2 separate regions of the Homo sapiens genome follow, and region 2 is linked to region 1. The links are contacts of gene promoters, found by promoter capture Hi-C in human tissues and cell types (Jung and others, 2019). All regions are on one chromosome and are shown on one strand. The core of a region is centred on a gene start or on the middle of the fragment in contact, and the rest is flanking DNA. Distances in the headings are between cores, read along the strand shown.

The links. The method cuts DNA at HindIII sites, captures the fragments that hold promoters and counts their contacts. A contact is called where the count stands out against the background at its distance.
Region 2: a fragment that was not itself captured here is called in contact with the fragment with the promoter of VSNL1 in region 1 in 1 of the 25 tissues and cell types used here (aorta).

Annotation. Positions count from the first base shown.
Region 1 is chr2:17,537,622-17,543,879 of GRCh38, reverse strand. VSNL1 (visinin like 1) reads right to left here and starts at 3,184. Exons shown (of 4, transcript NM_003385.5): 1 at 2,962-3,184. It also overlaps a transcript of RAD51AP2 not described here. RefSeq lists enhancers at 1-458, 4,760-4,879. The HindIII fragment of the contact is 10,007 bases long and covers 1-6,258 here.
Region 2 is chr2:17,503,019-17,509,276 of GRCh38, reverse strand. No RefSeq gene overlaps it. Among named protein-coding and RNA genes, the nearest start is that of RAD51AP2, 12 kb to the left of the region's middle. The HindIII fragment of the contact is 4,314 bases long and covers 866-5,179 here.

The sequences.
Region 1 (6,258 bases), core at 1,935-4,434:
AAAATGAGGAAGAAATGGAGAAAGCAAAAGAGGAAAAAAAGGAGAAAAAACAGGAGGAAGGTAGGAAGGCCAGTTAGGCGGGTCACCTTGTCTGCTTTGCAGCCCTCATCCAGCAAGATGAGAGCAGAAACTGCGAAAGAATAAAACAAAAGATCTGCCTGAGGAAAAGCTATGCAAATGCTTTAAAAGCTTTAAAGGATGAAAAAGCTGCACTACTCTCCTCTATAGCACAACTTCAGGTTAAACCAGTCAAGCCTTCTTCGGTCTTTCTGTCCCTTCCCTTTCCCTTCTCCGCAGGTGGCTTTATCTGGAGGATTTCCAGGAAGGCTGGAGACAGGCATCTCTAATTTGGGTTCTGCCTCCTAGGAGCCAGAGGTGAGCTGGCAAAGTCCACTCTGGAAACCCTGCAGCTTCCTCACTCCACGAAGTCCTAATCTCTGCAGCTGCAGTGGTTTTGGAGGAGGACAGATGGGGAGAAAAGTGGGAATGTAACTGCAGTGTCTTTGAAGGCTGGATTCCCTGAAGGATTTTGGGGAACACAGCAGGGAAAGATGGAAATGGGCCCTGGGCAGTTCTCAAACAGGAACTGCAGATTCTGATACGCTAGTGCTCCCGGCAAACGCCAAGGATTCCAAAGAAATTGTCTGAGATGCAGAGGAGGCCAGAAAAGCCAGACTAAACATCCAAAGAGGTGGGGATATTAGAGGTGAGGGGCAATAAAAAAGAGAGAGAAAGAGACCTTACAAGACAAAGAGAGGCAAGGAAGAGAAATGAGGTGGTATAAAAGGGACCCCTAGAGACAATTTCAAAAGATGTGCTGGAGAGCAGACAGTTATTTATTTGAAGTCTGCAGCAATGTCACTGAGACTGCTGAAAATGAAAGAGAGAAGGAAACATTTCCACTCAACATTACTTTTTAATTGTTTATTCCATAGACTAGAAGTTAATTGACTTTTCTCTACATCCATGGTTCTGGGCCTCAGTTTCCTCATCTACAAAGCAAGGGGTTTGGACTAGATACCTTACAGGGTCTCTGCCTAACTTGATCCTCTCTGTCAACCTATGAGCCAGGGACTCCAAGACCAAGCATTTATCAGTTTTGATACCTAATTCCCCCCTTTTTCCTCTACCACCCCTCTTTATCAATGCAGTGTCAACACCTGCACCATTCATCGAACTGATGCCAATGCTCAATGATGACAGGGAGTATGGCTCAATTATGACAAATGATTAGTCCTTCTGCCCTGGAGTAAGGAAAGAAGGAATAGACAAGGCAGTATGATTTATACTGTGGATTTCCAATGAGAGGTTCTTCTCGAATTTTCAATTACAAATTTCATCCATTTAAATAAATTATAAATTCCTTTGAGGGGTTCCAAATGGTTGGACTGATCAAAGGGCCAAAGAGCCCTATTTGATGGCCCCCACACCCGATTTGAGGGAAAATTTATTTCATTTCATCCCCAAAATTGGATTTGCTTATTTCGTGGAAATCCAGCACGCACTAGCCATGCTTTTTTCTCATCTTTCTGCCTCATGCCCATTCTGCCAACCTGCTTCAGTGCAGCATTTTCTGGGGTTATTAAATACCCAAGGCTTAATGAGAGTGCATTCAAAAGTAAGTTGTTCAATGATGTAGGATCACCCCCTACTCCCCCCCACCACACACACACAAACACACGTAGGCAGTTTAAATGATAGTGGGGGTAAAATGTGTTTTCACAAGAGTTTCATTTTAAATTTGTCTCAACCTGAAATTCCTTTAGAAATTAAAATAAATATTAATATGTAGAAATAAAACTCCCCAGCTTTTCTTGCCTTCAACTGGAAAGTGATACACAAATAGTATGTACTTAGTGTTCTCCACAACCACCAACAATTCTATTTTATTTTAGTTTCCAAAATACGGACAGGAGGGCAACTCTAGAAAAATGGATTCCCACTCTGGCATCTCACAGGGCACTGATCAGGCAATGCGGAGCACTCATCATTTCCACCATGCAGGGAGCATCAGCCTCTCCTCGCTCCTTCCACGTACACATTCTTGTACCCCTGAGGGTATTCATCATTCTGATTTCCACCCGGGGTTTGACCTTGCAAAGACCCTTCTTCCAGTTTCTGGGCAAGGAACAACCCATTTTAACTCAAAACACAAAACGACCTTTTATCCTTTAAAGAAATACTACCAAATGTAACACACCTTGATTTACATTTTTTAACCCCAGATTCCGGATGGCGAACACGGAATGCAAAGGCAGGTAACTAGTTTGGGTCTGACAGTCCCCATTCAGCGACCGAGCCTGTGACTCCGTTCAAAATCGACAGTGCAGTAGAGCATCTTTCCCTTTTCTGCCCATTCACCATTGTGACAAAAATCAAAGACGAAAAAAATTATCTACTCATTTCTGAATACTGAGAGAAATGTGCTCATTTTGCGCCTGACTCCGTGGATCTTAAACACTAACATCCCGCTCAGAGATCAACCATGATTTCCATACCAATCTCATCCACTCAGTTTTACTTAGCAAACACCTTTGCTGCCCTTCCACAGTGAGAAAAATGGTGCACCAATCCCACGGATGACAGGTTGCTACTCGACTGTACCCGCTCAATAGTTTTATCAGCAACCGGAAAACTTCACAATCGGTCAATTAGCTACTTAAATCTGTCTAAGACAAACTAAGAAAGCATCTCAGTTTCACCTGTCTTAAATCTAGTCTAAGACAATCCCCCAAACACGCCGCATATAAACACTCCCCCTTCCCCCACCCCCAATATTCCAAAAGATCCCCCATGGACTAAGAGCACATTCAGATCGCCAGCATTAAGCAAGGAAATTGTCCCCATGCATTTAGACGCATCTATGCAAAGCAAAGTATGTGACAATAGCCAAAGCATTTCTCTGACAGTTGGTTGCACTACACATGCAGAAATGCAACGAAGATTGTATTTTCCACTTACAGTTACAGCGCTGCGCACGGTCACTTAACGAAAATGATAAAACTCAACAGTTCTTTTTAAAAATATATATTTAATTCGGGTAAACGCTTAAGCCGTCTCTGTGTGTGGTTCTCTCTCGCTCTCTTTTTCTCTGGAGCTCTGGGCTGCTTAAATCCCTCTTGGATCGCGCCTTGCAAGCCCAGCCGCTGCCGCAACACGCTCGGGTAAATCTCTGCTGCAGATTGGGAATCCCATAGAAAACCTAGGGTCCCTGGAGCTGGATGCGCAGGCGCGCGAGCCTCCGCCTCTCCAGGCACCCCCTCCCCTTTCCTCTCTTCCCTCCCCCCAGCTCCGCAGCCCCAGCTAGGAGAACTCGGGAGCCTGTGACCAAAAGCCGCCTGGCGATGGCGCATGCTCAGTCGGAGGGGCTCGGAGTTTCCGCGGGTGGATTCCACGTCTCCAGATTTTAGCAAAAGCTCAAAAGGAAAGTATATAGGAAAAGGGAGTCCGGCTACCGGAGCAACCCGCACCTGGACGGGCGCGAGGGACTGCGGGTTACCCGGACTCGCCACGCCCAGTGGTTACCGAACCTGGGGGCTGAAGGCCGAGGCCAGAGATGGAACACGTGGAGCCGCTTTTCCCGCTGCTTTCTGTCCTAGCCGACCCCCGGCCCACCCTTTGTTAGGCTGTAAGGTGAAGGAGAAAACTGCAGAAATCTCCGAAAGAAGACTTCCCAGCAAGCTGTGAGCACGTCTACCTGGCTTACTGAAGGAACGGTTATGGTGGTCATTTTGTCATGGGCCATTTCATCAGAGGGTCTTCTGCTAGGAGTACTGGGAGCCGGGTCCTGCAGCACCCAGTGCCCCGGACAGTCTCGGTCCAGAACGGCGTTGAAAAAATGTGTGTTAAAGGGAGCTGGGATCCGAGGCTTCTTGCCCTGTGTACCCTGAGCCAAGCGCCTTCTGTATGCACTTAAGTGTTTTTAACATATGCTTTGCGTCTGGGGTGGGAGGGGGTGGGTGAAAGGGCGGGAATGAACCATTTTGCGAACCCACGTTTAAGGGCTCTGATTAGGCCATCTTATAAAGCCCCCTTTGTGTCCTTGAACAACTAACAGGTTTGCCAGCCCTCCCCCCGGCTCCCCATTGGCCTGCCAAAGCCTAGAAGGCTTGGCAAGGAGTAGTGCCCAATAAATGTTTGGTCGGTCGCTTCCCTACCAGAAAAGCAAGGAGAATTCCCAGATGTTCCCAACCAGACCAGTTTTCCTCAAGTGTGTATGTTGTACATGAACTCATTCAACAATTATTCATGGAAGCATTTGCAAAACTATTAGACATTCCTTTATGCTTTGGGAATAAGTGCGGTTAACAAAACCCCCTCCTGGGCTTTACATTCAGGTGGGAGTTTTATTTTCAAGGGAGGGAAGTTCTGGGGGCGAGATGAAGATCGAGGTTCTCCTTAAGCAGAGCGCTGTACAATTTGCACAGCGTCTTCACACACCTTATCATGTTCAGGAAAACTGTAGAGTTGACCTACCCTTCGGTGCTGGGGACACCAAGAGCGTCTCCCGTGGCAAATGAGCTCTAAATTGACAAATCTCCAGCTGCTCCTGGTTCCAAGTCGAGGAGTCCAGCTTTGAACAAACTTGAGACTACTTAAGTGGGCACCAGGAGAAACTCCGCCAGACAAGTCTGTGGCTGTCGACATGCTAAGTGAGGGCCTCAGGCAGTGATGCCTAAGCCTCATTCGCTGCCAACCTAGCCAGCCCAGAACCCAGGAACTGGCTTCCCGGGCAGGACGCCTCGGGAAGGTTGCGCAAAGGGGGAGCGCGCTCTCGGGACTCCCGGGACACCGCCCGCGGCTGTCCCCTCTCGGCAGGGCTCTTCCGCCAGTGCTGGTGACCGCGGAAACCCGGAGCGCGGAGTCGCGCGGACCACGGCGCGCGGCCCCGGCGGGCTGCGGCAGCCGAGCACGTTTAGAATCTGGCGGGCGCCAGCCCTTCGCTCTGGAGCCGCAGTGCGCACTGCGCTGCGGGGCTCCCGGGCGCGCCGGGCTGCTCCTGTTTCCTGGGACTGGCAGGGGGAGTCAGTCCTGAATAAGTCACTTTTTCTTTTTAGCTAGAAAAACGACTTTCAAAAGGCTTTCAAAATCTCGTCTTTGGTCGATTTCCCCTACTACAGCATTTTACGCTGAGTTCTAGTTTCTCTCTCGAGAACAGCCTCCGCACTGTAATCTGCATCAACCCAAAGGGTCATGATGCCATTTCTCCACTTCAACGAGATATACCTATTTATTGCACCCTGGAGGTCTCTTTCGTGGCGGTGTTCGATTTTAGATAACTTACTTGCAACTTGTGTTTAGGAAAAAATGTACACTGATACTTTAAACCATGCTCTGTTGTAGGGTACGATTGATATCGACGCGTGCGCTTTTGTAAAGTAGCTTTGTCTACGTGGGCGGGCAGATTTTTTAAAGTTCCATTTGCACTGCAGCGCTGTTTGCGTCCTAAATGCGATATTGTAATGTTTAATATCCAGCTATTATGTAGCTTTATCTTTTTCAGCTTCTAATATTTTGTTGCTGTTTAATTTTTTTGGCATGCCTTTTAGTCGAGTTGTATATACGAAGTCACAGTAAGAAAGCCAATTCTAAGACTCCTAAGGAATATTATCGTTTAAATTACAGAAGGCAAATCCCCTCTTTAGGATGGGAGAATGTACTTGAAGGGAGGAATGTGGCAGGGTCCCTCAGAAGTGAGGGAGCCCGCTGTTCCTCCTTCAGGCATTTGCGGATGGCACTGGTGATCACAAAAAAGCGGAGATTACGCTGCCGGGCGCTCCTGTGGTAGAGGGACTGGAACACTGTCCCATGTTGAGTGAAGAATGCCATCAGCTTTACCAGTTGTCCCGTTACCTAAAGCCACGTCCCCAACTCTACAACTTTCACACCCTGGATTTTTTTTGGGGGGTGGGGGGGTATAGAGGAGGAGGAGGAAGGTGCTGTAGGTAGGGGCTTGTTTCTTCCTTCCTGTGTATCTGGTAGAATCCTCAATTAACCAGAAACAACTGAAGAGCTATTTTTCTTCCTTCAGTTGCAAATTATGTTCTTTATAGAAATTTCTAGCCTTACTTCCACCTTATTTCTTCCCAGATTCAAACAAACAAACAATACCAACAGTAGATTTTCAGGTGTAAAATACTCCATGTAATATTCTCACTCGCTTTGTGACGTGGACGAATTGAAAACGGAGAATGACAGTAAAAGTGTGAAATTCCAGTAGTGTAACAGGTCTAAGCTCATAGTCCTGGGAACTCCTGG
Region 2 (6,258 bases), core at 1,773-4,272, 34 kb after region 1:
CATACTAGCTATGTTTTTTTGAATTCTTAATAGCTTTATGGCCCTGGGCAAGCTCCTCATTTCTAAAAAGAGGATAATATTATCTTCTGGGATTATTGTGAGGATTAAATAAACTAATACATACCACATATTGTAACAGCTCTGATACATAGTAACTACTCAATAGGGAGTACTTACTGATACATAGCAACTACTCAATAATTAATAACTACTTAGAATGTTTGACTTTTCTTGAAATTTTGTTCTGGATTTTGCATTAGATTATTTTCAGAAGTATGCTATTCTTATGAGTTTTATAAAAATGTTTCTTTTTTTCCTACAAACGTCCTCCCTTCCCTCTTCCGTCTTTTTATTATTATTAGCCCCATGTTGGATTTTTCTGTAATCATACAAGGTAAATCTCCTCACAATCAAGATCTGTCTTCACAACCTTAGTCCTTTGCCCTGTTCTCTGTCACTCTGTGTGAATATTTAATTTTGTTCTCAGCTCTGTATCTCTAGGACTGGTTTATATGCTTCTATTCTTATTCCTAGTACCATGAAGGCTTTTATGGATACTTTTGTCTTTTCTCTAATAAATAGTATATTCACTTAGAACCACTCAATGCTGGTTCTTTCATATTCTGAACTGATTGAACATGTGATAAGTTTAAACTCCTAGCACATATTGTGCTGCTTACAACGGTTTTCCATGCCACTGCCCTATTACTAGCTTTGATCGCTAGAACTTTTCTTCTAGGGATGACACCTCCCCAAATGCAAAACTTGCTCCTGCTAGTGTAATTCCTCAAGCACTCCTTCCCTAACTACCTCCAACCAAATACACAACATAAGCACACAGGACCTTCCCTTTCCTGCCTAGGTCTGTGAGTTATTTTCTCCGGAAATAGTAAGTTGGAGGATAGGAGGAAGGCAACATTTTAGCTCTTCTTGTGTTTTTGTGTCTTCATAGCCAGGTTTGGAAAGGCTGCATGGGATCCGTGGTGGAAGACATTTTAAACTGATACCCATCCTCTCTCCACCTTTTTCTTTTTTATCTTTGCTCTTAAAATGTAAAAGTTGAATGCTTTCAGATCAGAGGAAATATTTAAAGGATAAAAAGCCACTTTAAAAAGTACTTGCTTTTATTCAACTTCAGAGTGAATCTCTGCGTTACTTCAGTTTAAAGTTACAAGCCTCTGGATGCATAACTGTGAGCATGAGAAGAGAAGCAGAGCCTTATATTAAATCATCTTGAAAAAGTGATGTGGATAGTCTGTACCTTAAGTATGCAAATCTCTGAGTTACCTGTTTAACCTTATTTAGTTAAGCAAAATGGAAAACAAAATATGCAATGAAATTGATCTTTAGTTCCATCTAAATTGCCACATAAAAGAATGTTTATAGAGTCAGTCATCATTTTGGGAAATCTTTTTAATAATGCAGGCATTACACATTTACATTGACACATAATAGATTGTGGCAGAGTTTATCCTGCTAAAAATAATCTTTTAGATTAAAGAGAATAAGATATCAAGAGGATCTGAAATTATATTTTTCCCATTTTGTTGTAACACATATCATTGTTTGAAACTATCCTTGCTAGATAAGCCTATTTAACATATTCTTTTAAAAACACAGCATATTCAGAAAGGAACAGTCACTAAACCATACCACCTATCCAGGCAATGGGCAAAAAATAAACTCAAGATCTAAAGGTCTCTGTAATTTCTTCTGTAATTTCATAATTTGGAGAAACTCATAATTAAAAAAAAAAAAAAAAGAAGTCTGTGGATCTCTTTCTTGAATTCAAGACTCATGACTTTTACTCAGTCTCTCTACTGTGATGACTAATAGGCATTGCAAAGCTACCATGGCCCAAACTGAGCTTCTGATATTTGTTCCCAAACTCTTCCTTCCACAGTGTTTCTTATTTCAGTAAATGGCAATTCTATTCTTTTAGAGACGAAATGCTGGAGTCATCCTTGACACTTATTTTTTTTCTCATAACCCATGGCTGGCCTGTCAACCAATCCTATTGCCTTTGGCTTCTCTTGTCTGGATTATTGCAATTGAGTCCTAACTGATCTCTCTGCTTCAGTTCTTGCTCCCCTTCAGTCTATTCTGAACACAGTAGCCAGAATGATTCTTTAAAATATAAGTTGTAGCATATCCCAGTTCAGCTCAAAACCTTCCAAAGCCTTTCCTTCTCACTCGGAATACAAGCCAAAATTCTTACTTGGATGTATGAGGGCTATAATGATCTGACCTTCTCTTGCCTCCTTAAACTCTTCTCTGTATTTTCCCCTTGTTTATTCCTCTGAAACCACAATGGCCTTCCTGTTTCTTAGACACATTAGGTGTGTCCCTGACTCATGGCTTTTGCACTTACTTTCTTTTCCTGGAATGCTTATTCCTAGGATATCTGTATAGCTTGCCTTGTACCACCTTCCTAATAGCTTTATTCAAATGTCACCTTCAAAGTGTGGCCTTTCCTTCCTGCTAACATTCATATTCCCTTTCCCTGCTTTCAGTTTTTCCTCCTTAATAATTTACTATGGACATACTACATATTTTACTTTTTATTTTGTTTATTGCCTGTCTTTGCCACTAGGTTTTAAACTCTGTGAGGGCAAAAGTCTTTTGTGTTATATTTATTACTCTATCCCCAGTGCCTAGGACAGTGCTTGACGTAAGTATTCAATAAATGTTATTGACAAAAAATTGAATAATGAGACCAACAGCGAGTATGTCTTAAACATATCATGCTGAATAAACTTCTTGAATCATATACCTTTGTGCCCTCCTGGAATTTAAAGGTCTCTTCCCTCTTCTTTGCTATTCTCTTTTGTATTTTCTCCTTGAACCAGAGAAGTGAAAACAAAGCTTCGATCTAGATCATTTACTATGTGATCTTCTTCAGGCATTTAGCTGCCTAACGTGTCTGAATTTAAAATTAGTCTTTTTTAATGAAGAAAAAAATAAGGCAAACCATAGTAAAATTTGGTACATATTTAAAATTCAATGTCGTATCTCTTATGCCACTTAAAATCTTTGTAAACAACATCCGTATTTAAATTTTCTAATGGCCTTTTCCTTTTGAGTTAGTAAAAAACATCTATTAGAGTTTTCCAAATTTTAATTTTTGCCTTTTTACTTTTATAATTCCCCTTTAAACAGTCTTTTAAATTTTATTTACTGATTCATTTTTGAAAAGTTAATACCTAGACATGGTACAAAATACAGAGGATAAAGAACAAAAAAAGAAAGAGTGAGTATAAGTCCTTTTCTTTTTTTCCACACTCAACTTTTCAGTTTCTGTTGATGGAGGAAACAATTGTCAACAGCTACTTGCTCCTATGAAAAAATAATATTTTATTATTAATAAGCATAGAGGGTATTTTTAGTTATTATCTGTTTTATACCTATACTTTAAAATATGCATGATTGTCTTTGTATCTTACTTTTTCCTTAAATATATATTTCTATAAAGAAATTTGGTCATTATGGTATACTTAACAAATTTAATAATTTATGCATTTTAACGTGTTACAATTTTAAGGTTATAAAACTTTTTTTCAATGTTAAGAAACAGAAACTTGAAAAGTAAACTGGGCTTAGTGAATCTGACATTTCCATTAAAATTACCTTAATTTCTGAAGCAATTTTAGAAATTCTGATTTTTAACTATTTCAAATATCTTTAACACTATCTTAACAAAGTATTCATATTCCAACAAATTCAATTTTATCTGTACGCTTAATTACACAGTCCATGTCTTCGTTTTTTTTAAAAAAAAACTTTGTAATTGATTTTGCTGCCTGTCTAATTATGATTGCAATTTCTCTCCTTTATTTCACTACTATACATCCACTAGCTCAAATTGCTACTCAATTCTTTATTAAGCTTTCATCTGTATGTGCACACATTCTTTCTCCTCTCTCCTCAGAGTTTTTATCTCTTTGCCTGCCCTGCCTTCTCTCATCAGAAAGAATACTCTTAAAATGCAGAGGACTTTGGCCTTTTTTCAGTTTGCATTTTCTTTTATTTCTTTGCATCGTTAGCTGCTTTCTATTCTTGAAACTTTCACTTTATGATGATACACTACCTTTTATTTTCCTAACAATTGTATCTCTTTTGCTTTCTAATCCTCAGATATAAGGAAACTTCAAAGTATAGTCCATGGACTTTTGCTCTTTATTTCTGTGTTTTACGCTTAGAAATCTCATTCATTTTTCATGGGATCACTTACGGCCTCCACATTTACCAACTCTACAGTTTTGGAAACAAATTATGTCTATTATATCTCTCTATATATCAATTACAACTACATCAACAAACTCTATGCTTTGGAAACAAATTATACCTTTCAAATTCTAATTTTGGCAGCATAACAATAATTAAAAAAACTAATGTTTATGAAATACATGCCACGGTTCAGGAGCTATTCTAAAATCTGTATATATAAAATACTAATTTAATCTTTAAATAACCTCACAGTCAGATACCATTACTATCTCCATTTTACATTGTGAGTTAAATAACTTGTCTAAGGTCACAAAGTATTATGTTTTCAGAATTCAAACCCATGCAGTCTGCCCTATGGCCAAAGCTCTTAACTGCTGTTATATTGCTCTGATTTCCACATTGCTATAGGTCAACAACTTCAACTCAGTTGTCTAATATCTCATCAGTCATCATTCACTCTACCACCTGACATTTATTTTATACTGTCAAGTTCTGTTACTTCTTCCTTCTAAGGAACCCTTAACCAATGCATCCTTCTTCATTCTTTAGAGCCTCTATAAAGTGGCCTTACCTAATAGAACTTTCCAACTGGCCGCCCCTCAACTTCCCTACAATTTGGCTAGTCTATTAATGCACCACTTTCTCCCAACTAATATTTTCCCATTTTGCTAATTTTTTCCTCTACTGAGATGCACTTTCTTTCACCTGTTTAAATCACACCTGTCCTTAAACTACCACCTTTATACTGCTTTTCCCAACTACTTGAACATTTTATGATTGCTAAGTCCCCTGAATAATGATAGTGCTTTCTTTTTAATGCATCATCAAGCATTTATTACACCTGCTTTGTATTTTATCTTTGCCTATCTAAGCTTGGGCATAGAGATCATTTTAGAAACTTTGCAGTCTCTAAAGCAGTGTATCAGAGCTTTATACTAAAAATGTTTGTTAATTATATTTGAATGTTAATATTGCATTTATTTCATGGCATCTTATATTTGGCTTTATATTCTTATTGATAAATCTAGTAAGCTTATAGCTTTTTTTTTTTTTTTTTTTGGTTTCCAGAAGAAAATGTAACTAAATACAAAAGGCATTTTTGGCATATTTTTGTCTTTGGCCTTTTCTTGTTGACCCTGTCTTCCTCTACTTCTTAGGTCAGCTTCAAAGCACAATCCCACTTTTTCCTCACATAGTTTGTATAAATGCCTTTTAATATGCCTAACACCTACTCAAATTGAGTTGCACACATTTTTTATCCATCAATAGTACTGATTTTAGACAAAATATTATGAAAATATTTGTGTATTTTCATCAATAGGCAAAAAAGAATGTTTCACAAAACAATTTTCCTGTCTTAAAATTTGGTGTACAAAAATAATATCTTGCAAATCTGCTACTCTAACTGCTACCCTTTGAATAAATATCCTTGTTATTACTGCCACCATTATCAGTTATTAAGTGCCTTCATGAAAAAGGGCAACTTGCTGCAAGATATATAGATATAGTGCCAATAATCAACATTTGGAGGCCACTTATTTGTAGGAACAAAGGGTTTCAGCTTGCAAGAACCAAAAGCAGGACCAAGGGATTCTTTTATAGCCCGCTGGGTGGATCAGTCTTCCAGCTGGTACTTCATTTTAAAATTACTTTATTTGCTTTTAAATTTTTTATTTACTTCTAATTTAGTGGCATGTTGCTCAAATATCTTAGTATACTTTCACAAAATTTCTCTACACATCTCAAATTCCTTTTTTCTTGCAAATGACAAACTACATGCTTATTGACAGAGAAATTTAATTTGTATGTGGCAGAGTAGTATAAAATTAGCTCAATGTATAATTTTGAGATATATATGGACTTATTTCTCTAAAAACTGATTTAACTTACATATAGTTTAAAAACTTTTATTTAACAATAAACTATTTTTAACAGGAAATAAGTTTATTGAGATATAGCTATATTGATCAGAATACCATAAAGTAAGTTGAGTCTAGGAATATTTTTGAGATATAACATTCTTATTTAGAT